Linked DNA regions of Homo sapiens: all the other regions are linked to region 1. Evidence: promoter capture Hi-C in 16 types of primary human blood cells and fetal thymus (Javierre and others, 2016). All regions are on one chromosome and are shown on one strand. Each heading gives the region's core, a stretch centred on a gene start or on the middle of the fragment in contact. The rest is flanking DNA. Distances are from core to core; before and after follow the strand shown.

The links. The method cuts DNA at HindIII sites, captures the fragments that hold promoters and counts their contacts. A CHiCAGO score of 5 or more calls a contact.
Region 2: a contact is called between a fragment that was not itself captured here and the fragment with the promoter of TMEM68 in region 1, in 3 of 17 cell types (total B cells, naive B cells and M1 macrophages). The highest score is 6.1, in total B cells.
Region 3: a contact is called between a fragment that was not itself captured here and the fragment with the promoter of TMEM68 in region 1, in 1 of 17 cell types (total B cells). The highest score is 5.1, in total B cells.
Region 4: a contact is called between a fragment that was not itself captured here and the fragment with the promoter of TMEM68 in region 1, in 1 of 17 cell types (total B cells). The highest score is 6.8, in total B cells.

The regions. Positions count from the first base shown.
Region 1 is chr8:55,770,450-55,777,359 of GRCh38, reverse strand. It overlaps TMEM68 (transmembrane protein 68), which reads left to right and starts at 3,982. Exons shown (of 8, transcript NM_001286657.2): 1 at 3,982-4,091. TGS1 (trimethylguanosine synthase 1) reads right to left here and starts at 3,914. Exons shown (of 13, transcript NM_024831.8): 1 at 3,641-3,914. The coding sequence starts at 3,741. RefSeq lists enhancers at 3,476-3,805, 4,577-5,080 and silencers at 3,946-4,135, 4,226-4,355. The HindIII fragment of the contact is 10,724 bases long and covers 1-5,434 here.
Region 2 is chr8:54,761,801-54,768,336 of GRCh38, reverse strand. It overlaps a transcript of RP1 not described here. Among named protein-coding and RNA genes, the nearest start is that of RP1, 150 kb to the right of the region's middle. The HindIII fragment of the contact is 1,772 bases long and covers 2,585-4,356 here.
Region 3 is chr8:54,745,420-54,751,861 of GRCh38, reverse strand. It overlaps a transcript of RP1 not described here. Among named protein-coding and RNA genes, the nearest start is that of RP1, 130 kb to the right of the region's middle. The HindIII fragment of the contact is 2,203 bases long and covers 3,849-6,051 here.
Region 4 is chr8:54,703,664-54,710,361 of GRCh38, reverse strand. It overlaps a transcript of RP1 not described here. Among named protein-coding and RNA genes, the nearest start is that of RP1, 91 kb to the right of the region's middle. The HindIII fragment of the contact is 2,475 bases long and covers 2,465-4,939 here.

The sequences.
Region 1 (6,910 bases), core at 2,733-5,232:
ATCAGATACGAAGGGTGGGAAGATCTTGCTACATGGACTTAGCAGGATTCTGGCTAAAAAAAAAAAAAAACACCTGTAATCCCAGCACTTTGGGAGGCTGAGGTGGGAAAACTGTTTGTACCCAGGCATTCCAGACCAGTGTGGGCAACAAGGTGAGATCCCTGTCTCTACAAAAAATAAAAAAATCAGGCAGGTATGGTGGTGCATAGCTGTGGTCCCAGCTATTCAGGAGGCTAAGGTAGGAGGATTGCTTGAGCCAGGGAAGTTGAGGCTGCAGTGAGCTGTGATTGTACCATTGCACTCCAGCCTGGGTGACAAAGTGAGACCCAGTCTCAAAATAAACCTCCCAAAACCCAAAAAACAAAACAAAAAAAACACCCAAGAACCACCCCGCCACCACCAAAAAAAAACCAACAAACAAAAAAACTAATGGACTTAGAAGGATTCTTGTTAAAACTGGACCAGACAGGTTGAAGACAAGTCCCAAATGACAAGGCCTAATCAAAAGGAGAGCTCACTCAGAGCCTGTGTAAAGTCTGGTTAAGGAGAGTCTCTGTCAGTACAAAATGTAGAACAATTAGTGGTGGCACTTAATAAGTCATCTAAGGGAGGAGACCACCCCTCATATTGTCTTATGCCCAATTTCTGCCTCCAAAGAAAGAAGTAAAAACTAAAAGGCAGAAATGAAATCCATAAGCAGACAGCCCGGCGCCACACCCTGGGCCTGGTAGTTACTGATCCACCCCTGACCTAATCGGTTATTTGCATAAAAAAGGCACTGGGCCGGGCACAGTGGCTCACGCCTGTAATCCCAGCACTTTGGGAGGCCAAGGCGGGTGGATCAGAGGTCAGGAGACAGAGACCATCCTGGCTAACACAGTGAAACCCCGTCTCTATTAAATACACAAAAAATTAGCTGGACATTGTGGCGGGCGCCTGTATTCCCAGCTACTTGGTGGGCTGAGGCAGGAGAATGGCGTGAACCCAGGGGGTGGAGCTTGCAGTGAGCAGAGATCTCGCCACTGCACTCTGGCCTGGGCAACAAAGCGAGACTCTGTCTCAAAAAAAAAAAAAAAAAAAAAGACACCGTGAAGACCCCTGTCCAGTTCGGTTCCTTTCTAATTAGTGGTGTACGCAGCCCCCAGTCACGTACCCCTTGCTTGCTCAATCAATCACGATCCTCTCATGCAGACCCCCTTAGAGTTGTGAGCCCTTAAAAGGGACAGGAATTGCTCGCTCGGGTTGCTCGGCTCTTGAGACAGGAGTCTTGCCGATGCTCCTGGCCGAATAAACCCCTTCCTTCTTTAACCTGGTGTCTGAGGGGTTTTGTCTGCGGTTCTTCCTGCTACAGTCAATCGATCCAAGGGATTTAGTCAATTCTAGTGGATACTTTTAGTCCTCATTTTGCTTGATATTTTGGCAGCTTTCCAATGTTGATTACACCTTCACTGAAACACTTGGTGACAGTGTACTTAGGCTTGTCTGTTTCCTAGTTAATCCATCTCTTCTTGTCTTTAAAAAGTGCTGGAATTCCTCAAAGGTGGGTCCCCCTCCCCCACCCTTCATTCATGGGTTCAATCACTATCTAAGGCTAAATGGCTCAAGTTTTTAAAACTAGCCCAGACTTCTCCAGCGCTCCAAATCAATATATCTAACTGCTTATACCATCTACTCTTGGTTATCTCATAGATACCCCCAAATCAAAATGTATAAAATCAAACTCATAATCTCTTCTCCGTTGACCCAAAATAAAATTCATGATTCTCCAGTGATCCCTACCTCAGTGAAAGGCAGCAATACAATTCAGTCCCCACCCCCAGCAAGTTTTCTCCCATCTTTCTTTCTTTCTCCATTTCTGCTGCCATTTATCCTAATCCAAGTCACTATAATCTCTTGCCTAAACAATGGTCTTAAGTGGTTCTCTTCCTCCAAACAATCCTCCACACTGCCGCCTGAGTAGTATTTTAAATATGCAAATCTGATCATGTCATTCCCCAGCTTAAGGTTTTCCTATAGTCTACAAAGTCCTGCGGGTTTTGACCCTGCCTACTGTGCACACCCTATCTTCTTTCTTTCCCAGTTTTTTTTCTTTTCTTTCTTTTCTTTTCTTTTTTTTTTTCGGGACAGAGTCTTGCTCTGTCATCCAGGCACGACAATGGCTAACTGCAGCCTGGATCTCCTGGGCTCAAGAGAGCATCTGGCCCAAGCCTCCAGAGTAGCTGGGACTACAAGCATGTGCCACCACAGCTGGCTAATTTTAAAAAAAAATTTCAGTACAGATGAGGTGTTGTTATGTTGCCCAGGCTAGTCTCCAACTTCCGGGCTCAAGTGATCCTCACTCCTCGGCCTCCTAAAGTGGTGGGATTACAGGTGTGCACCACCGTGCCCTCCCTCCCAGCCATTTTGTTCAGTTTCCCAGGCTTTCTTTTGCTCCCTCAAGGCCTTTACTGAGTTCAGCCTGCAGAGAACGCTTTCTCCCACTGAAACTCACCCCAATTTATCCCCCTTAGACCTCTTTCCAAAAGCTACTTCCTCAAAGAAACCTCTGTGACCCTTGGAAAGTTATTTGTTTTCACAGCATCCTGCACTTCTCTCTCATAGCACTTATAACTATAATCAACCAAGTAATAATGTAACCAGTTATCTTAATATTGATCTTCTCTGCTAGGAAGTAAACTCAATACATGTAAGGACAGAATGTCTTGTACCTCAGTGCCTACCAGCATACTTGATATACAAGAGCACAAAAAACATTTTCTGAATGATTGTATGACTACATGCATGCCTGACTAAAAAGGCGACAATACTTTTTACATTAAATTTAACAAGTTTAACTTCTTTTTGCGTTTTCAAATTACTCCACAAAATTACACGAGAAAAATGAATTCCTTCAAACTTAAATCCTACTATATTAAACTATATTAAAAGTCTATCACATAAAATTCACTTCCACAAGGATTTAACTCTAACAAAATAAGCATGTGAGATTAAATATACCCGTTATAGAGATGAAAAAAAGGTTCAAGTGGTTTAACTCACGCATTTAATATAAAGGAAACAATTCCTAGAATTCAAGTCTCTTGGCGGTATTATTCCTGCATACTAGCTATTTTTCATGTGGGGCAATTTTTACCTGATTCAAAGATTTCCCCAAAATAAAGATATCACAAAAACTGATGTAAATATGGTTAAGTCTTTTATCTCAACTAGTTTGAAGTTTTAATTATGTGCATTTGGGCTTAAGTAGATTTTTAGGTTTAAAAAAAGACGTTAACCAAAGCAAGTCACTCAACTTTAAACTTTCACTTTATGACATCATATCTACTAGAGATTTCATTTTACATGTCGCTTTCCCCCAATTTTTAAATGTCCCCTCGATTTACAAATATGAGATGACATATAGCACCTACGACATTTTTTCATAGCAGCCTACCAAGTAGATGTAGTCCTTCACATAAAAATAATGGCAGTGGGCGACCACTCCGTCATGTCTGAGGGTTTTGTTTTTCTTAAACATCACCGTGCCCAAGGGTCAGATGTTCTGGCTGCTTTCAGGGATCAATTACAACCACGTTTGCAATACCTACATTTCTGGGTAATGACTGTGCTAGAACATGAAGAGATTCTCTTTTCTACTTACTCCACAAATGCCCTGGAGCAAAGGCACAGTATCTTACAATCCTCCCGCTCCTCAATGAAGAGAAACATTTCCGCCACGCGGCTCCACTTCTCGCAGCACATTTTACCACTTCGGAGGCAGCTCTGACGTACGCAGCCCGGGTCGCGCCTGCCGGGCCTCCGCTCGGTTACTGGAGACTTAAAACAGGCCTCGCCCGCAAGCCCTGGATGAGGAGATAGAAACTGGCCCGCGGCCGCTCGCGCCGGGAACTAGCCCGGACGCTGCCGCCGGAAGTGGCTCCGAGGGGCCACGGGAAGGGGCGGGACCACGGGCGGTGTCACCCCCATCGCGGCCCGGGCTGCAGCCGCCGCTTGGCTTCTTTCACACGGGTTGCTTCGGAGGAATCCGCCGTGCAAATCTGTCCGCCCCCTTGGCCACTGATCCCCCGAAGAGCTTCTGTCGCCGCTCTAGGGTAAAGGAGAGCTGCCCCTGCCCCTGCCCCCGCCTATCCGAGGTGCGTCGGCCCCCGCGCTTCTCCAGCCCGGCATCGGGTCTGGCGGGACTGGGAGCGGCGGAGGCCGCGCGCGTCCGGTCTCCCAGGAGCCGCCTCGGAATCCCCAGTCTCTTCGCGGGCAGGCTCGGCTTCCCGCCGGCCTCAGTGTTGCGCCCCAGCGCCAGAGTGGCCGGGTGTGGAGATCCTCCCTCCTCTGGGTCAAAGAGCCTGCTCTCCCCGCCCCTCTTCTCCCCTGGCGCTCTAAACCTTCGGTTCGGCGCGTTTCATCCTAATGCATCTGGTGGGGCGAGGCGTCTCTAGCCTCTGTAGAGGCCTCTAGGCTTGCCCAGTGGCTTCGCTGGTTCCGGGACCCAGGTCGAGCCTCCGGTGTAAAAGCCAAGGGGAAGTGTGTGGTGATCCCGAGAGTGTAGGGGGAAAGCCGCGTGGGTAGAGCGTTCGTATCCAGACCGATCAGGCTTGGAATCCTGGTCCTACCTTGTGACCTGGGCAGGCAACTTCACCTTTCTGAGCTTACCTTTGATCACCTGTGAAATGGGGTTGATTAATAGTAACTACTACATGAGGCTGCAGGGAGGACTAAACGAAATGATGTATATTACACCTTTCCTTTGTGCGCTTAATCGTTGGCGTCGGTTTGGACCTTGTAGGCGTTAAGTGCTGTCTCGGTCCCTGGGGTTTGCAGCCTGTAAAACAGGTCTCTGCCTTCAAGTTACTAATTATCTAATAAGAAAAAAGTTCATGTGGGCATAAATAGGATGGAGAAAATGGAAACAGCAGCGTTGCTGGATCTGTTAAAAAGCAGTTAGTATTTGGTGTGTGGTATTCATGGAGGCTGCACGGGCAACTTCTTCAGAGACAAGCTCAGACTTGAAAGTTGGAGCGCTTCGGACGTGGTTGGTGCTACGAAATGCCAAAATAGTATTGGTACTTCTTCAGAACTATATAAAAACTGAGCTAAAATTCATGCATTTTGAATGGTATTTTCAATAGTATTTTGGCCACATTTACTAGTTAGTGGAAATATTCATTTTCAAATGTTTATTCCCACCTCCTTACTGCTGCCCTACTTTGAGGTCGGAGATAGGCTGATTTTGTTGGTTCAAGAAGGTAAGAGTGCTGCACGGTTACAGATATACCAGTATAGATGTGCAGCATTATTGGGATGAGTAGCTGGGTTACGATAATAAGGGTAGAACAGTAATTATGAAACAGAGTGGAAGATTTTAGCTAGAAGTTGGGCATTCTAGGATTAAAGAAAAGTCTTGAAGGGTAATTTGTATCAGAACCTCGAGTTTAAAGCTTGAAATAAAAAAAGTATTAAAGCTAAAAGGATTAGATTTACCAGCTATCTTGACAAATACTAAATTGCAGCTTTATTCATGGTTTGAAGTAGAAGTCCTATTCAGTAAAACAGTGCTGTATCTCTGTTAAACCATTATTAAATATGCAGAAAGGAAACAGGAAAACTTGTTTTTCAGTGACTATATCTTTTAATTGGCATTTTCAGAATGTTCTCAATGTGACTTATATACTAAAAGTAAAATGGAAAAGTACTGGTAATGGGTGTTCAAAATAGATATACTTTATTTATTTATTTATTTATTTTTTTTGAGACAGGATCTTGCTCTGTCACCCAGGCTGTAGTGTAGTGGCGCGATCGCGGCTCACAGCAACCTCTACCTCCCAGGCTCAAGCAATCCTCCTACCTCAGCCCCCCGAGTAGCTGGGGCTACAGGCATGCCACCATGCCTGCCTAATTTTGTGTGTGTGTGTGTGTGTGTGTGTTTTGTAGAGACAAGGTTTTGCCATATTGCCCAGACTGGTCTTGAATTCTTGGGTTCAAGTGATTTGCCTGCCTCAGCCTCCCAAAGTGTTAGGATTATAGGCATGAGCCACTGAGCCCAGCCTAAAATAGATACACTTTCTTAAGGTTTTATTGAAAGCCAAAAAGTTCTCTGTTCTGATTTATTAGTTTTTGAAATACTCTGATTTTAAACATCTGTAAGGTCCATATCCTCACCATCAATGTCAATATGGTGATATTTGAGCTTGTCAACTTTTTTTTTTTTTTGGAGACGGAGATTCATTTTTGTTGCCTAGGCTGGAGTGCAATGGTGCGATCTTGGCTCACCGCAACTTCCGCCTCCTGGGTTCAAGCGATTTTCTGCCTCAGCCTCCTGAGTAGCTGGGTTTACAGGCATGCGCCACCACACCTGGATAATTTTGTATTTTTTGTAGAAACAGGGTTTCTCCACATTGGTCAGGCTGGTCTCGAACTCCCGACCTCAGGTGATCCTCCTGCCGCTGCTTCGCAAAGTGCTGGGATTACAGGCATGAGCCACCGCGCGTGGCCTTGTCTACTTGTTTTTACAAAAGTTACGTGATTTCCAGATAGGGAAATTAAGATACTTTATATGTGATGCATTAGACTGTGTTTATTTTAGATTTTTAGGAGCAGGGGGCTGTAGAAAATAACCTGGAATTTTGAGAACTAAAATATTGTATTTCCCCCAAAACATCTTCTAGTACATAGAGTTCCCCCCTGCCCCCGAGACAGGGTCTTGCTCAGTTGCCCAGGCTGGAGTATAGTGGTGTGATCATTATAGCTTACTGCAGTCTTCACTCCACGGGCTCAAGCAGTCCTCCTGCCTTGGCCTTCCAAGTAGCTGCAACTTACAGGAACGTGCCACCATGCCTGGCGAACCTTTTTTTGGTAGAGACAAGGTCTCAGTATGTTGCCCCCAGGCTGGTCTCAAACTCCTGAACTCAAGCAGTCC
Region 2 (6,536 bases), core at 2,221-4,720, 1.0 Mb after region 1:
ACAGATGTTATAGGAGCAGAAAAAGAGACTGACCAACTCAATTGCAGGAATGGGGAAGTGCAAAGGAATGAAGAACAAAAAAATTAAACAAAGAGGTGATACTTGAGCTGAAGGTTGGACAATAAGTAGGTCAGGATGGGCACCGTAGAGAGAGACAACAGCACTGGCAAAGGTACAGAGTCCAATGAGATTCCACGTGGCTGACGCACAGGAGGCTGCTGGACAAGATGGGGTAGCGGCAGGGGTTGTGTGTGGGTTACTCAAGGATCTGACAATGTCAAGGAACTTAAGAGTCTGAGCTGTAGGACTGACGTCACCACACTAGCCTTGCAATCAGCAGATAATGGGAAGGTGTGGGGTATAAAGGCGAACTGTGAGCTCGCAGTCCTACCCAGCTGTCAGGATTGCTCATCTCTCCATTTTTCCAAAGCTATGAGAAATCCCATTTCCTTCTGACCACTTTAGCTCACAGTGTTCTTTCCTCCTCTGGAGCCTAATAACACACATACAATATATTTTGCACATTTTGTTAGCCCCTAATTATGCAATCTTACTTTATTAGTTATGTTTTGGTTTATGTATCCCATCTTTCCAGCTACATTGTTATGTATGTAAAGAGTTTACTTTACATGCCAGAATAAAGACAGTCAGCTTCATGTTTAAAAATACAGACTTTAGGCCCAGCAAGGTGGCTCACACCTGTAATCCCAGCACTTTGGGAGGCCAAGGCAGATGGATCACCTGAGGTCAGGAGTTCAAGACCAGCCTGGCCAACATGGTGAAACCCCATCTCTACTAAAAATCCAAAAATTGTCCAGGCATGTTGGCACACACCTGTAATCACAGCTACTCAGGAGGCTGAGGCAGGAGAATCACTTAAACCTCGGAGGCAGAGGTTGCAGTAGGCTGAGATCGCTCCACTGAACTCCAGCCTGGGTGACAGAGCAAGACTCCATCTCAAAAAAAAAAAAAAAAGAATACAGACTTTAAATTTCAAGTAGAGTCAGATTGCCTTGTTTCAAAACCTGGCTTCAACATCTACTACTTGTGCAACCTTGCCCCATGTCCTTAATCTTTGTAACCCTCAGTTTCCTCATTTATAAATTATGGATAATAACCTTACCTATACAAAGGATACAGAATTAAACATACATAAATGTATTATGGTAAAATAGTTACTACTGCATTTCCTGACTGCCAAACACAGTGCCTTGTACACAGTTGTGTTACAGAAAATATATTTGGGGTGACTGCCAGTCAACAAACAACCATCCTACTTTTCTCAGATGTGCCATAAAACAGTAGGCCTTGGATAGTGAAGCAAGTTTTCACATTAAGACAAGAAAATTCCCCCAAAGCCAATGAACAGATGGGAGAATTGGAGCAGTGTGGCTTGAGAAGTGCAGTGATGATATTAAAGGAATGGAATAAAAAGCAAGCACGAGAAGGTTGCTTGACCAAGAACACAATCCATTCTCTGCAGCCACCAGCTAAAGAATGCCTAAACCCCTAGGTCACCAGGGAGCTCCCTTTCACTGGCCTAGCTAGGAAACACAAAGACAGGGGCAAAAATTCTGTTAGTCTTTTAAGATTAAAGTAGACAATTGTGGAACGTGTTGGGGTGCTCCCGCCTTAAAACATATAGGGTGTTTTGCTGGGGGAAGATGTATAACGAGGTAAGGAGTAGTACAGATTTTATTTAGTCTGAGATATATTTTATATTTGGCACACTTTCACATTGAAAATGGCAGAAGAAATATTTGAAGATTCTATGTCTCCACCCCCATCCCCAAAAAATGAACAAGACTCATCCCTGCACCTCATTCTGTCAGTTTCCCACCATCACTACTTGTCACTTTCGCACCAAGGAATGGCGTAAACTGACAAAGAAGAGCACAGAAATCTGCAGCAGCACAAATACATGCTCAGAATAGCAAGAAATGATTAATAGTGGCCTCTTTCAGGAAAAAAAAAATCAGTAAAGTTAAATGATTGCTCACTGCCTCATGATAATTTTTATTATTCCCTTCTCCCTATAAAAATTGTATTTTACATTTCTGTACTTTATCAAAATTTCAACATCTTTTTTTATCTATATCATTCATCATCTCCCCCTCTTTTCCCAGAAAGGGAAAATAAAACCATTTGTAGACAGGCTGACTTATTTTGAAAATAAATAAATGCATAAATTATTCGTAATGAGACATCTGAGTATGTTACAGAGGGAACTCATGCAAAGATTAGGTGACCTCTAAGGTTTCTTCCAGCTTGAGATTCCACTGTGTTTTCCATCCATCGTCCTTACCCCCCTCCCTCCTTCCTTCCCTTCCTTCCTTTCCCCATTCCTATCTATAAATATTTGCTAAATCCATACTTGGTACAAGAAGCCATACTGGAAAATAAAGAGAAATTTATGAGACACTACCCTTAAGAAGCATATCATCTGGTACCTGAGACAAATACGTTCACAAACAATGGCAGTGCATTGTCTGGCAAGAATTGCATAAAGGTCTAAGTCAAGTGCTGGAGGAATTTAAAGAGGGTAAGGATGAACACACTTCTGTCTGGGCAAGCAGAGAAAGCTTCATGGCATGGATAACATTTTATCCTGGGCCTTGAGGGATAAGAATTTCAGTAAGCAGAAGAAAGAATATAATGAGCTAAAACAAATGAGGGAAAAGAGTAACAATATCCCTGGAGAATGTCTAGAGACAGAAGCGAAACGTACTCTACTCAGGAGAATTGGAAGAAAAGCCTAGAAAGGTAAATGGCCAAGGTAGGGGGATAATATGTTTTTAATTCACCACACACTAACACCTTCAGGCAGAGCTGGCCTAGGTGTAAAAGTTCTCTTGCCAACTATACTTACACAGAAGAAGGATGCTGTTCAAACAGGGCTGCCCCTGCTTCTTTTCCTGACCCTCTCCACAAATGATATACTCAGCCCTGTTCTGTATAAGGCTCAGCTCATGATTTACTAACTAATTCACTAATTTAGCACACACTTTCTGAGTACCTACTATGTTCTGTGTATTTGTCCTGTGGACACTGAAGGTCTTGATTACAACCTCCTAAGAGCATGCGCCTCATGTTTGATTTTCATGGAATAACCGCTAGAGTTGCCACAAGGCAATTAAGCAAGGACAATGCTTTGTGAATAATAATGATGGGATGGTACAGGGGTGATTATCAGCCTTGCTTCCACGGAAGAATCTCATGCATGGAGATGCGGCCTGCTGGTGTGTGAGGCTGCAGTGATAGAGCAGCAGAAACGCCGCTCTCTGCCAGGCCGTCAAGGCGGAGCCCCCTTGCGGTGTGGTTGGCCAACTAGCCACTTCAGTTTTTCAAGAGTGAGATCCTGAGACAAGTAAACTGCATTTTGCTTAAAAATCTATACCAGTAGGACACGTCTTTTTTTTTTTTTTCTTTTTAACTCATGCTAATTCTAAGAATTACTCTTTGGCTTCTTGTTGTCATTAACACTTAAAAATGAGTATTAAGTGACAATTTTGTTTATATGTGTCATAGTGAGGTTAAGATACAATTAAACCTTTTAAATTGTGTTCTAATTCCAAATCTGTCTTTTAATATGATTTCCCTTTGGGCTTATAGTGTCTTGATTAATGCATGCATTTTGGTTGAATTTATTACACATGTAAATTTAACCTAGTTCCCTTCTATTTCAGAAACGATAGGAGCTGAAAGTAAAAATATAAGACATCAGCCCAACCTTGGGGAAAAGTGTACTGAACTAGAGGAGTAGGACAGACACATAAACACACACATATAACTTAATGTAGTAAGTGCTGAGTTAATGTCACACGCCTTGTGAAAGGTATACAGGAAAATGAGTTTCCCAACCTGTAGCTTCAGGAAATATCTCCTGGCAGAGGTGACGCATCTTTTGTCAACTCACCAGTAAATATACCCATGAAAGCCTACAGGACTCCAGGCACCACGGAATGGCCATGAGTTAGGTAAACTCAGATCCAACAGCACCAGCTGAGAACACAGTGAAGGCCAGTGAGGAGCAGAGAAGAAAGTGTCTGCCAGGCCCTGGCTGAGCTGTAGGCCTGCTGTGTGGCCAAGGCCAGCTTTTGGCTGCAAAGGTTCCCCCAGAGTGTGATCTCAAGGATGAAAAGAAGGCCTTTAGTTTGCCTTGCCCGAAGGCCTGCCTCACCTGCCTGCAGGGGGCCCACAATTGTTTCGGTGGAACAACAGACTCTTTTTTTCAACAATTAATAAGAAGGTGCTGAGGACCGTGAAAAGGGCGTGAGTCTGGAGTGGAGGTGGCATTCCACCTACCAGAGGTATTCAGGATTTGCTGATAGTCTATTCTAGCCATAGTGGAAAGCTTTTAAAGTCTTCTTTTCTTATACTTTGCACAAAGGAGATAATCTCAACCTTTCTCAAAAAAAAAAATTTTAAAGTCATGAATCCTGAATAGAAATGAGACGGGAACACTTTAAAGGTGTTAACTGCAATGTCAACTCTAAGGAACGCTGTGGAGCATTATGTCCTTATTCCTCAGGTGAATGTGCCTCAGGGTCACTCCACCTATCTGACTACAATTTGGTTTTGAGAGGACAAAGCTGGTCATGCTGCCTTGCTTTGACAAGTCAAGTTAGATTCGTTTTGTTTGTTTGTTTGTTTTTGAGATGGAGTTTTTGTTCTTGTTGCCCAGGCTGGAGTTCAATGGCACACTATCGGCTCACCACTACCTCCGCCTCCTGGGTTCAAGCAATTCTCCTGCCTCAGCCTCCCGAGTAGCTGGGATTACAGGCATGCACCACCATGCCCGGCTAATTTTGTATTTTTAGTAGAGACATGGTTTCTCCATGTTGGTCATTATTTGTAGTTATTTGCATTTAACTGATTGATTTCTGCATTTAAAAATTCTCCTTCTATTTAGAATTCCCCTAGGTAGGGCCTTTATTTCAAATAACTTGCTTCTGCAAGCTCCTATCAATGTCATTTCCCAAACCAGGAGTTATGAAAGGCAACATTGAGAAGCTTTTGGCACTCCTTGTCTCCAGGCCCTCCTAGGTCAAGTAGGTTATCAAATATATATTGTGAATGACATTGTTTCTATTAAAAGATAGATGCTAACTTATTTTTAATAATTTCACATTAAAGTCAAGACTCACATATACACATGCATACACAATAGTTCAAGTTTGGTAACACAGAAAAATCTGGAGATTCCCTAATTTAATGCTAAACAATACATTACAGAATCCACTCAAAAAGTATACTGGGTTAAATAGTGTTCCCCCAAAATTCATGGCCACCTAGAACCTCAGAACATGACCTTGTTTGGAAATAGGGTATGTAATTAGTAAAGATGAGGCCATACTGGAGTAGGATGGGTCTAGTCCAATGACGACAGTGTCCTTACAAAAAGATAAGAAATACAGAGACACAGACACACAAAAGGAAGACAGCCATGTGACAACGGAGCAGAGGCTGGAGTGATGCAGCTGCAAGCCAAGGAAACCCAAGGACAGTGAGCATGCAGCAGAAGTGGGAAGGGCGAGGAAGGACTGTTTCCCAGGCCTTCCGAGACAGTGAGGCCCCGATGACACCTGGATCGTGGATCACTGGCCTCCAGGAGCTGCAAAAGGATATATTTCAGTTGTTCAATGCAATCAAATCTGTGGCAATTTGTTACGGCAGCCACAGGAAGCTAATATAAATACTAAATGAAAATATTTGCATTAATTCATAAAGTCAGTTGAATGTCTGCCTTATTCAAATAAAATTTTGTTTGCTGCAAACCTCAAATAGCCAAACCTCCAGTGTAAATGGTAGAAATTCAGTGATGTATACCCCTATCTATATTAAATGTACAAAAGACAGAAAAATAATACCTTCAGGCATAGAAATAAAATAAAGCCATAAGGACGTGGGTGTTCAGTTGAAGAGGGAAAAAGGAAAGGAGGATGCGCACACTCGCAGGCAGCCTCTGTGATGCATACAAGCAGTCTCCTCACGCGGCTCTGCTTTGTGTCTCACCTAAGCATTTCCCCCGAGCCCACAAAAAGGGACAAGCACTCGGTGGTCTTTTTCTCTGCCCTAATTCAGCTGTGCTGTAAATTCTTGTTCTCTGAGGAAACTCCAAGGAGCATGACCGAGATTTTCTTTCCTTTTCCCTTCTGTGATGTGCACCTGAGCATTTTGGATGCCTGTACCCCAGAACTAACTAGCCACAGTGAACATGCCCAGCATCATACCCTACCCAGCTCCCCCGCCAGGACTGTCCACTCCAGCTCCTGCGTGCACCCATGGCTCTCCTTTCTCTTCAGAACAGCCTTCCAGGCTCCATGGACACTGACCTTGACCTCATATGCACAGAAAAGGCTCTGGGAGACAGAAGTAACTATAAGTGGCTTCAGAATGGCCTTTTTCTGCAGTAGAAAGGAACCTGCTGTGCCCCAAGTTCTATTCCTGGTGCCATACTCTTCTGCTCCTTTAAGAATTAAGGAAGTAGGAACTGTCTCATCTCTGTATAGCTACATAATAGAAAGCAATTATTT
Region 3 (6,442 bases), core at 3,701-6,200, 1.0 Mb after region 1:
TCCGTTTACCTTCGAAGTCATGATGGCTCGAAACAGAAAAACAAAGAATCTAGGTAATCTCCAGCAATGTTTGTTTTTATTTTCACAAAATATTTTTTCAACCGTTAAATTAGTAAGAAGGGCAAAATTCCAGGACGACCACAATGTTTAAGCCCCGTTACATGATAGCTAATGGCAGGACTCAGTAAAAGGCATGTGGCAAGTGAAACAAACATGGATTTGAATTAAAAGACCTTGGTTTATGTCTTTGCACTGCTATTTACCAGATGTATGGCCTTGACCATTAACCACTGAAATAAATGTGAGCTATGCATACATTAAGATAGATTAATGAAAACAAGTAAGAAAGTTTATTTTACCTCATTTTTTGGTGGATCAGTGAGCAACAGCAGTCTTGTAATGGTGAGTTAAATCAAAGATTAAATGTTTGCAAAGTACAAATTGTCAGAAGCACTTCCTCCCACCACACAGTTCAAAAACAAACCATCACAAACATGGCAGCTCACCAAGCATTTTTATAAAAGTTCCACAAGAGGACCTCTCATCTTCAGGCCCTCATTTGCAAAACTGCCATCATATCTCACCAAGTTGATAAGTGCCTTATGTAATAAAATGAGATCAAAACACCTTTTGGAAAACAGTTTGTAAACTATAAATGATTAGCCATAGGAAGTTATTTTCCAAAGCAGAACTTTCTCAAGAATGGGTGGCGATGTGTCCGGAGTTGGTTCCTTCCGGTGGGTTAGTGGTCTCACTGACTTCAAGAATGGAGCCGCAGACCTTCACAGTGAGTGTTACAGCTCTTGAAGATGGCACGGACCCAAAGAGTGAGCAGCAGCAAGATTTATTGTGAAGAGCTAAAGAACAAAGCACCCACAGAGTGGAAGGGTACCCGAGCAGGTTGCCACCGCTGGCTGGCGTGGCCAGCTTTTATTCCCTTATTTTTCCCCTCCCATGCTCCATTTCTGTCCTATCAGAATGCCCTTTTTCAATCCTCCCTGCAATTGGCTTTCAGAGTCCTGCTGATTGGTGCGTTTTACAGACCACTGATTGGTGCGTTTTACTGATTGGTGAGTTGTGCAGGGCACTGATTGGTGCATTTTACAATCCTCTTGTTAGGTACAGAGCACTGATTGGTGCGTTTTTATAGAGCACTAATTGGTGCATTTTACAATCCCCTTGCTAGCTACAGAGCACTAATTGGTGCATTTTACAATCCCCTTGCTAGCTACAGAGCACTGATTGGTGCGTTTTACAATCCTAGCTACAGAGTGCTGATTAGGGCATTTTACAATCCTCTTGTAAGACAGAAAAGTTCTCCAAGTCCCCACTTGACCTAGGAAGTCCAGCTGGCTTCTCCTCTCAGTGATACTTAGGAATATTGTAAAAGAGCTTGATTTCAGAACATCTAAATTTTCCAAGTTAACAGTAAGAGGGCGGTTTTTGTGCCTAGAAGTAAGATCACTTCTTTCCAGATCCACATGCTAGCTATGTAATATGGGAATTGCCTAGTTCTCAAAACCTCAATGTTCTCAATTAGGATTATGATAATATCTGCCTTTCTGTGGTATAAACATTAAAAGTGATCAGGTATACCCTGAGTGCTCAACACATGTTTATTGTTTTTAGTAATAATAGTATCAAAATTAATCTCAGAGATTGGAGATCAGAATTCTTAAAAATTATTTGGGATTGTGGTTCCTCACTCTTTAACATCCTCCTAGAGAATGCCCAAGGAAAACTTCAGCCAAACGTTCAGTTTTCTATTACCAGAATGAGAAATTCTATTCCAATTCCCTGACTCCTACTGTACTTGGGAGAGCTGACCACGACCATCTGGGAAGACAACTAACAGTCTCCTTTGGCTCTCCTACCCTTAGCCAATCTGAAGTAGCTTCTCCTGCTTCCTCTCTCCTGGGCCCCTCCATGAATTCTCTAGCCCATCAGTCAAGGAGTTCATAAACAAAAGGCAAAACCTCTAACTTCAAAAAAAAAAAAAGAAACCTCCAAAGCTTTGGAATCCCAAAGCTGTCCTCTAAGCCAGGTCTCCCACTCATCCCATCTTCCCAAGAAAGCTCTCCAGCACTTCTAGTCTCCTGGGTCCCTAGATCACTGTGTAATCCTTGTCTGCTTTCCCTAAAATGGCTCCTATTCTGCTTCTTTGTACCTCAAGCAGGAAATTTTAAGAAAAAGGAGGCCATTCCTCTCTAAACTATAGGGACCGGCACTGTCCCAACTCCTCTTGAAGGCTTTATCTTTTCTTTCATGTCCTCCCTGAGCCCCTTCTCTAACTGTCCTTAGTGCCTGCCTTTAATGTCAACCTAGATATCAATGGAGCAAGGATCAGGTCCAGTGGGTCAGAAGGAGGGTCATCACTATGGCCAGAAGACTTGGGGTTGTGAGGGCAGAGTGAGCCAACTGCCCTCTGCCATAGCCTCACTCCACATCCTGATTAAATGCAATTAATAACCAACAACAATTGCCACCATCTATATTTGTATTCTACTTGTTTTTTGTTTTGTTTTTTTTTTGAGATGGAGTCTTGCTCTGTTGCCCAGGCTGGAGTGCAGTGGCGTGATCTCGACTCACTGCAAACTCCGCCTCCCATGTTCACACCATTCTCCTGCCTCAGCCTCCCAAGTAGCTGGGACTACAGGTGCCCATCACCACGCCTGGCTAATTTTTTGTATTTTTTAGTAGAGACAGGGTTTCACCATGTTAGCCAGGATGGTCTCGATCCTTTTTTATAAAATACTTTTCACAAATTGTATTTAATCCTAAACAAAATAAATAAAATAATCTTATCTTTTCTTGGAGGAGAAATGATATAGAACCAGAGTCAACAAATACTTTCTGAGAGCTACCCATGTGGCCATTTGTCTACTGAACACTGGATGTAAGATAAACACTGGATAGAACACAAAGAATATATTAGGATGAGAAAGGTTTAGAAAAAAATCCTTTTAGAAATCCTACCCTGAAATATCATAAACCTTTGTTCTATAAAACAAAAAAAAATACTTCTACTCTCATTACAGATTCCATATACACAAAGCTTTTTCTGAAAAAATAAAGGCAAATAGTCACCAACACGTTTGTTGGACACAACGTATTTATAGTACTCTATAAGATCTGATACTGGGGATGGTGGATGGGGCACTCATGTCAGTCATTAGTATTTTCTTTGTATAGCCAGAAATATGAAAATATAATAAGGTTTAAATGTGTTCATACGGAACATTTTAAGTGTTCTTGCAAATCAGACACAAAGTCAAAGCTTGACTCTAAATATCCTTATTTCTCATCCTGTGCCTTGTGATAATACCCTATTTGTTATCAAGGACTGTACAAGGGGGACCAACTATGGTATTTACAACTGACTGAGGGACTATCAAATACATGAATTTATCTTTGGTTCAAATAAGCTGGCACAACTTTGAGAATGTTTCTATAAACTACTGGAGTCTTTTGAGATTAAACATTTGCCTGGAGATTTTGTGAAAAGAAGCTGGTGCTTCCTGCTGTTCACTGAACTAGAAAATCTTCAAAAACAAACTATTTTTCTTACCGCATTTCAGAACTTGCTATTTCCTTTATGTGGTTCTTTCTAGAACCCTGAAGTGAAGAAGTAACTGGAAATGAAAAGGAACTAGAAATATTTATGAGATACTTTAAAACTTCAAAAAAATAAGGCATTTCTTACCTAATTTTGCTAATCTCAAGATTGCCTGGGGCTCATATCAAGTAGGTTACCATATCATATTAACCAGCAGTAGGTTAAAATAATAACAAATTCACCAAAACCTATGACCCACTTCAATTCAAAGACTTAGAAGAATCAAAAAGCTTCAAGAGAATTCCTATTCTATTTGAGTCTATTTATCCAGAATGTATAGCAAACATGTGCTGCAGAGGCAGCCCAGACATTGGAGAGAGCATTAGGCCATGGGCCAAGAGAAGGGGCATTGGCCTTATCTCGCTACTAATTCTGTGTGAATGGGTCAAACCTCCAAGACTCTCCAGGCTATATATATGAAACAGGGTCTCCCTCTGTCACCCAGGCTGGAGTGCAGTGGTACAATCTCAGCTCACTGCAGCACACCCAGCTAATTTTTGCATTTCTGTAGAGACAGGGGTCTTCCCATGTTGCCCAGGCTGGTGTTGAACTCCTGGGCTCAAGAGATCCTCTGGCCTTGGGCTCCCAAAGTGCTGGGATTACAGGCATGAGCCAATGCACCCAGCCGTACTTCACATATTATAAATATTTGTTAAATAAACAAAATGTGTTTTATTTATTCATTCATTCCACAAATGTTTAACATCTACTACATGACAGGCAATACTGTAGGAGTTGGGATTATAACACTGAATAATACAAAGTTCCTGTTCTCAAGTCACTCACTTTCTAGTGGAAGTCGGACTATGAACAAATATAAAATATCAGATAAGGGATGTGTTATAAAGAAAATAAACCATGCTGATGTGATCAAGAGCAAATGTGGGCTCCCTTTAGATTGTATAGCAAAGGACCTCTAAAGCAGGAGAAGACCAGTGTGGCTTCCACAGCATGAGAAGGGGACGAGAAAGAGGTGGGCAGGGGACAGATTACATGAGGGGACATGATCTGACTGATGTTAATAAGAGATCACTCTGGCTTCTCTTTGAAATCTGGATACTGAGGGGGGTGAAAAAGAAGCTGGAAGCCTATCATAGGAGATCTTTACAGCAGAGAGAAGAGAAAAAAATGCAACTTGGAGTGAAGTGATGGTAATAAGATGGAGGAAAAATAGACAAAATTGAGGTATGTTTCAGCAATAGAGTCAGCAGGAGATTCCTGAGGGATTGGATTTTGGAGGGAAGGGAAATAAAACAATCTAGGAAAATTCATAGGGTTCTGGCTTATATAACTAGGTAGACACTGACACCATCTTCTCAGACGAACAAGACTAAAGGAGAAGCAGGTTGGATGAGGGAATCAAAAAGGTCTGATTATGTTTCATTTATTTTTTTCACTTGATATTCACAACTTGTGAGATACCAAGTACCGTTGAGCCCTATTTTATAGTAAGAAAAACCTAGAGAAAAAGTGATTTTTTAACTTTTTAGAAATTAAACATCTTTCAAGTCTTTTGACTTCAACTCTAAAGTTTATTACCTCAATTTGAAAGAGCCAAAGTCAATTCCAGAGAATAAAAAAAAGAAAACCTAAGATTTAAAAACAATTATTAGTTTTATTTAACAGCATTTGCTAACATGTATGCTTATCTTTCTTTTTTTAATATTCAAAGTTAATTACTATCTGTCTATGTTCAGTTATAGCCATCTTGTTTTGGGTAGAAGCTACCCATTGCCTGAAATCAGTATGATGACCTGGATTAATATTCTACAACAGTGTTTTGGACGCTAGACAGCACAGTTGGTTAGTGTGCATTAATATGGCTGAAATAGCAAGTCAGACCTTCACAAAGGCCTCTAAAGTATGATCAAGGAATAAAAGTTTAAGACTCTGAATGACATCACATGACCCACCACTAGATCAAAAGCCCCAAAGTACCAGAGTATCATGAAATGGGCAGGTGTTCCCTGCTCAAAATGCTATGTCAAAAACTAGGTTTTCACCCATTTTAATCTGGGACACTAGGAATGATTTCAACAAACACTTGTTTAGAAACAACGGCTTCCCCCAAAAAAAAGCATTCCATAAGTGCTTGCATTGTTTATCACAAGATGAACAATAGCTATTGGCTATAAATGGCTGATCATTAATGGGGAGAATGATCCTAATAATGACATATGTCCTAATAATGACAGACTTTCAGATTTTCCAAGTCCACAAAAGGCAGCCTTTGGTCATTGTGAAAACAATCATTTTCTTTTTTGGAAATAGTATTTTCTTTTGGCTTTCAGACTGAAGCATCGTCTAGTATTTTTCTATCAATACTAAAAAGACCCAAAGCCTTGACTTTTGCTTTAGCTCTGATGCAGAACTGCCAAATGTGAGTACTATGAAAGAGTCGATATGGATGAGAAAAAGTGCACTGATATTAAGCTTCAAAGCCAAACTTTATGTTGGGGTAGATGAGAAATAGAAAAAGAGTTAATTTCCAAAACCATTTTTTCACTGAAACATGCATTCATTTTCCTTGAAAACAAACAAACACAGTGCTTGGAAAAAAAAAAAAAGGAAAAAGAAACAGCAGTGCCTTTATCACATAAAATATTCAGCATTTTGTTTTAGTTTCTTAAATGAATAGGAACAATTTTAGGAATGCCTTCAGTAAAAACTAAAATTCATTTGCTGAGCTCCCCCTGCTGATTTACAACAGCAAATATTAGTTGTTTCACAAGAGAACATTACCATAAAAACTCATTTTTGTTTCTTAGAAACTTAAAATTCCTGGATTACTTTTAAAAATTTCAACCAAGTCGTTAAATACATATC
Region 4 (6,698 bases), core at 2,453-4,952, 1.1 Mb after region 1:
GCTGCCATGGGGCCTGCACAGAGTTTGCTCCTGCTGGTGCTAAAGCAGCTGGCCAGTTTTTGCACTCACTTGCTCCAGTGCCTGCACTTGTTTGCTCGCGTGCTCCCTCCCATGAAGGGTTGAGCGGGGCAGGCTAAGTAAAATGGGCACCCCTGTTGCAAGACCTGCAAAGGGGTCAAGAAAATATCCTGCATCAATATTTTCATATTGGATGATGAATAGCCATCGTCTAAGCCCCCTTGTGTCTCCCTCATGTTCTGGTTGCCCTAGAATGGGAGAACCCCTAGAGGTCACAGCCCACTGCCAGGGTTAGGCGTCAGGGCCTGGATCCCAGCACAAAAACATGGGGCCCTGATGGCATGGCCAGCCAATACCTCATCCACATCTTGGACCTTCAAGGATCCTTGCTCCTTGCTTGTCCTGAAGGTTGCACTCCAGGAGTTTCAGTGTACCAAACTGCTTGTTAAATACAGTATTTTGAGTAACACCCCAGCATATATGGACCTGTTATTTCTGGTTTGCCCCTTTACACAGCTCCCCTTACCAGTGTTTTTTGCATTTAGCTACTACTTTACACACATGTGTTGCCTTCAGAGGCCTCAGAGGAGTGACCTTAACCCTCTGGACAAGGCTCATGTAACCTAGCTATGGTGTGCTTATCTCCAAAAGGCCTAGAGAATCTCTGCCTTATGTGCAATATTTCTTATTTTAATGTTCTGTATATCAAATTCTGTGTAACCAACTCATTTATGCTCTTTCACCTTTATCAATCAATTTCACTGGGTTCTCCATTTTGGCTATCTCTTCCCCAAAGCAAACAGAATAAATGCCTCTGGCTTTTTTCAAATTGTGAAATATCTCTAAGAAGAAGTGATACTTGGGTTTGAAACTCCAGTGCATGATTGCCTGCCTCAGCTCAGCTCAGCTCAGCATGATTGCCTTCCAACATACACAGAAGTCCTGAACCTGGCATTTCATCCTGTGAAGCCCTTCAGGAAGGGAAAACAGAAGGGGCTTCCAACATTGATGCAAAGCAGCACAACGTAGGCTGGCATGGCACAGAGTGTTCTCCCACCCATTTCAGAGCCACTCACTCACCTGACATGCTGTCAACAAGGCTGGTTCTTGGGAAATTTCTAAAGAAAACTTTGGTTTTGTGTTTAGAATCACCTCTGCCTCATGTATCCTGACTCTGGTCTCCTCATGGGGGAAAACCAGTTTCTCCATCCTGTTATTCTCAGTCCTCCACAATGGGGCCTTAGGAAGTGGGCAAACCTGGACAAAGCCTCAGCTCTAAGGCTACCTGGGGACTCTGGGTGAGATACTTAACCAGGCTCACACTCAGCTTCAGCATCTGAAGAATGAGCATGCCAATAGTTTCTTTGTGGCAGGATAATACTTCTGTGTTTTAATCTGTACAACTCCATCCAACTTCCTGTGATCACCAGATTCTTTCAATTGAATGCCAAGGACTTCTTCCAGTCCCTCAGCCCCATCAGATAGAGCTGAGTCACCCATAGCACAAATAGGAAGAAAAAGCATGAATATTAAGTGTAGGACAAAAAGATTCTGCTAAAAACTTACAGAGGAAGTTTACTCACTGGGAAGAAAAAGATAACCAGCACACTGAGAAAAAAAAAAAAAATGGAAGAGTCAGAGAGAGGCATACAGGCTGGAAGTGAAGAACCAAGAAATCACCATTCAGCTGGGCTCAGTGGCTCACGCCTGTAATCCCAGCACTTTGGGAGGTTGAGGCAGGTGGATCACGAGGTCAGAAGATCGAGACCATCCTGGCTAACACGGTGAAACACCGTCTCTACTAAAAATACAAACACAAAAATTTAGCTGGGCATGGTGGCAGGCACCTGTAGTCCCTACTCTGGAGATTGAGGCAGGAGAATGGCATGAACCCAGGAGGCGGAGCTTGCAGTGAGCCGAGATTGCGCCACTGCACTCTAGCCTGGGCAACAGAGTGAGACTATGTCTCAAAAAAGAAAAAAAAAAAAAACCAGAAATCACCATTCAGCTAGAGTATGAGGCAGCTAAATAGAAAGTGAGCAACCACTGAGCTATCCCTTTGGTTACTACCCGGGGAAGATAAACATTTCCAATGTTGACCCATTTCCCACTTTGGAGTGACACTTACCTGTGCCTCTAGAAACTCTGCCCAGCAACTTCCAAACACAAACACAAAAGCATGTATTACATAGTGACACATTATCTCATGGTTCTGAACACTCCTGCGAGCCCCAGAAGGGAAAGGCTTGTATAACTTGTGAATGTTGAGGATAGGAAGGCTACTTACTGATTTCCTCCCAGGACACTCTGTCCTAGGGGGTAACTGAACATTAGATGAAATTGTACTTCTAACTAGTCTAGTCATAGTAATAATGTTACTCATTTTTATCCCAATTAGTCCACTTACCAGTGTAAAGACTACAAGCATGAGTTTGTCTCTTAAGCTTGGCTTCCTCTTCTGTGAAATGGTGATAAAATCTACTTCATTATGCACTTGTGGGTAGATCAGGGATATTAACTACACGTGTGTATGTGCATGTGCTTCGCCTTTGCATTGTGAGCATCAGTGCAGCTCACCTGACACAAACTCACCAGTCTGCAGCACCGACAGGGACCCTGGGAACCATGAAAGGTCAAAGTCCTCCCTCCTCATACCCCAAGAAGCTCATGCAAGTTCTTCCTTATAGCTAGACATCATGACTGGTAAGAAGGGAGAGGGCGGACCTCAGAATTTATTCAGAAGATCTAATTTAAACTAAACTATTTTAAACAATAATAGATGGAGAGCATTAACAGGGAGGTTAAATGTGCAATCTTACTTGTTCCTCACCCCACAGAAGAATTATGAATATATATAAACTGTTATGTTAGTTGTCTTCCACATCCCCTCCTAAGGCTCAAGGTGTTAAAGAAAAACCCCTGTCTGGGCACAGTGTCTTAGGCCTATAATTCCAGCACTTTGGGAGGCCAAGGCAGTGGATCTCTTGAGCCTAGACATTGGAGACCAGCCTGGGCAACATGGCGAGACCCTCTCTCTACAAAAAGTACAAAAATCAGCAGGGCATGGTGGCATGCGCCTGTAGTCACAGCTACTCAGGAGACTGAGGCAGGAGGATCACCTGAGCTGCTGTGAGCCGAGATTGCATGACTGCACTCCAGCCTGGGTGACAGAGTGAGACTCTGTCTCTAAAAATAAAAATACAAAAAGAAAAACCCCTAATATTTAGAATTTAAAATAGCTTCCTAGTCAAGTACAGGGTTTCCAGTGGTGGAAATTCAGGCACCAAAAGGAGCAGTAAGGAGACACTGTTGAGCTGGCCTTTCTAGAACCTTGGTTCTCAAAGCATCATTCATGGACCAGCATCAGCAGCCACAGCTGAGAGCTTGTTAGAAACGTAAACACTCAGGTCCCACGCCAGCCTTCCTCAATCAGAATCTACTTCCTAACACAATTCCCAGGTGATTTGTACATACATTACATTTCAGAGGCCCTATCTAGAGGGTCAGGATTCCTCTCTTATCATACCAGGCATGTGGCTGCTCTCCTCACTTATTAAAAATACCAGTCAAGGGAGACCACCACATGTAACATTCAATTTCCAAAACCCACTCAGAAAGTGCTATTCTCATGTCTACAACTGGCAAATGTCTTAAACATTTGCTGAGAGAAACAAGAGCAGATGCTTACTGTTCCATCGCATCGGCCATCCTTGATTCTTAGATACATTTGTGCATTTTTCACACTTTCAAACATGCAAATCCCAGAGCTGATTTTATGCACTTTCCAGTAGGATTTTTCAGACTGGCTTCCCACTCCAGTGCAGCTTCCATCAGGCTGGAGACACAGGGCCTGACACAGGCTTGTAGCAAGCAGAACCACAGCACTGTTGAGGAACACCCCCTTCAGAGCAACAAACAGAACAGAAAGGCAGTCAGTAACGGGCTCGTGTTTTGCTAGAGGGAGACAACTATAGAGGCAATTCTCTTACTGAAGCCATAGTGACCAGGAGGCTTGGTGGCTGAAAACGAGCAAAAGAAGTAAACAATGTCACTGCTATGCAAAAGTAAACAAAAGGAGGTTGGTTTACTTCAGTTATCATTTGTTGACAGTATAAAGGCCAGCATGAGATGCTACAGAGATTTTTAAAAGATACAAAACACATATATTTCTCTTAAGGAATTTACTATCACCTTAAACAAATAATGTTAATATTAATATAAAGCACAATAAAAATATGCTATAAGAGTAACTGAATTATGGAATACTCTCTATGGATATTTAAATGTATGCATATAGGAATGAATGTAAAAAGATATCAAATACAAATAAGATATATTTAAGAAAATCCTATGTAATCATTAATTTAAGAGGAAGATATAAAAGACTCTTGAGAGTTAATTAGAAATACACTAACACAGTAAAACTGATAATAGATAAATACACAAATCACAAAAGATAAAATACAAATGGTGAACAAACATAAGGAAAAGTAATCCATGCTAGTAATACAAAAAAAAAAAAAAGCTAAAATTGGATATCTGTTCCTCTAGAAAATTGTCAAAGTTCTTCTCCTTAAGGACCATACTCAACAACACTGAGGTCAGTGAGGTGGGTGTTTTCCTACACTGCTGAAACTAGTTGGGTACTAAGAATTTAACTTTACCCAGAGAAGTCTGACCTTCGCCTCAGCTTCTGAGTGGTAATCTCTTTACCCTTGGAGTGTCATGCCTGATAGGAGTGTTGTTGTTTGCCTGCAGAGCTTGGGTCAGCCAGATAGTAATAATGTGACTTAGGGTAGGGGGCTTTGAGTCAGAAAGTGTTAAGTGACCTCCTGAGAGGCTGGAGACTGAGACCAGCCACATGGACTCACTACAGGATGGAAGCCCAATAAAGACTCTGAATACCAAGGCTCGGGAAGCTTCCTTGGCTGGCAATACTCCATGCATACTGTCACACACCAGTGCTGAGAAAGTACCTCTGCCTTGACTCCATGGGGAGAGAACCAGTGCACATTCCATGTTTGGTGCTTTTCCTAGACTCTGCCTTATGTGTCTCTTTGCTTAGCCAATTTTAATCTGTATCCTTTCTCTATAATAAACTGTAACTTTGAGTATAACAATTTTCAATGGGTTCTGTGAGTTCTTCCGGTGAATTATCAAGCCTTGATAGTGGTCTCGGGGTCCCCCAAACTCTGTGGTTGATGTCAGAAGTGAGGATAGTATTATAGACTGTTCCCCCTAACTTTATAGTTGGCTTAACTTTCACAGGAGTAAAAATTGGGACATCTGAAGAAATAAATTTGGCAGTATGTTCCCAGAGCCTTAAAAGTTTCACGTTCTAACCCTTAAGTTCAATTTTTAATTTTCTAAGCTAAGAAAATAATAAATGATGTGGTCAAAGGCATATGTCAAAGTATATATTACAGTATCATATGCAGAAGTGGGAAAAGAGAGAGATTAAATGTTCAACAACAAAAAAGACATATGTGTGTGTGTGTATACATGTAATAGTTACATTTGAGTATTATGAAACCATTAACCTTAAGTTCAACCTTAAGCTAAATAACATGAGATGTATGAGTTAAAATTATGTTGCTTTGGGAGAAATAGTAATGTGAGAAAGTGTTTATTATACTGTAAGTACACACATACCTTGTTTATTTGCACTTCACTTAATTGTGCTTCACTTTATTTGCTTCACAGATAATTTTTCTTAAATTGAAGGTTTGTGAGAACCCTACATCAAGCAAGTCTATCAGTACTATTTTTCCAACAGCATGTGTTCACTTCATGTCTCTGTGCCACATTTTGGTAATTATCACAATATTTCAAGCTTTTCATTATTATGATAACTGTTATGGTGATCTGTGATCAGTGATCTTTGATGTTAACTATCGTAATTATTTTAGGGGGACATAAACTATGCTCATATAAGACAGTGAACTTAATCAACAAATGCTGTGTGTGTTCTGAATGGCTCCACTAACCAGTCATTCCCCTATCTCTCTCTCGCCTCTCTATTCCCTCAGACACAACAATATTGAAATTAGTCTAATCAATAACCCTATAATGGCCTCTAAGTGTTCAAATGAAAGGAAGAGTCACATATCTCCTGCTTTAAATCAAAAGCTAGAAATGACTGAGCTTAGCGAGGAAGATCTGTCAAAAGCTGAGGCAGATCTAAAGCTAGGCCCCTTGTGTAAGGTAGCCATGTTGTGAATGCAAAGGAAAAGTTCTTGAAGCAGATCAGAAATGCTACTCCAGTGAACACATGAATAATAAGAAACTTAAACAGCCTTATTGCTGATATGGGGAAAGTTTTAGTGGCCTGGATATAAGACCAAAACCAACCACAATGTTCCCTTAGCCAAAGCCTAACCCCAAGAGCAAGGCCCTAACTCTCTACAATTCTATGAAGGCTGAGAGAGGTGAGGAAGCTTCAGGAGAAAAGGTTGAAGCTAGCAGAGGTTGGTTGATGAAGTTTAAGGAAAGAAGCCATCTTCGTAACATAACAGTGCAAGGTAAAGCAGCAAGTACTGATGGAGAAGCTGTAGCAAGTTACCCAGAAGATCTAGTTAAGATAATTGATGAGATTATCAACAGATTTTCAGTGTAAATAAAACAGCCTTCTATTAGAAGAAGATGCCACACATGACTTTCATAGCTAGAGAGGAGAATTC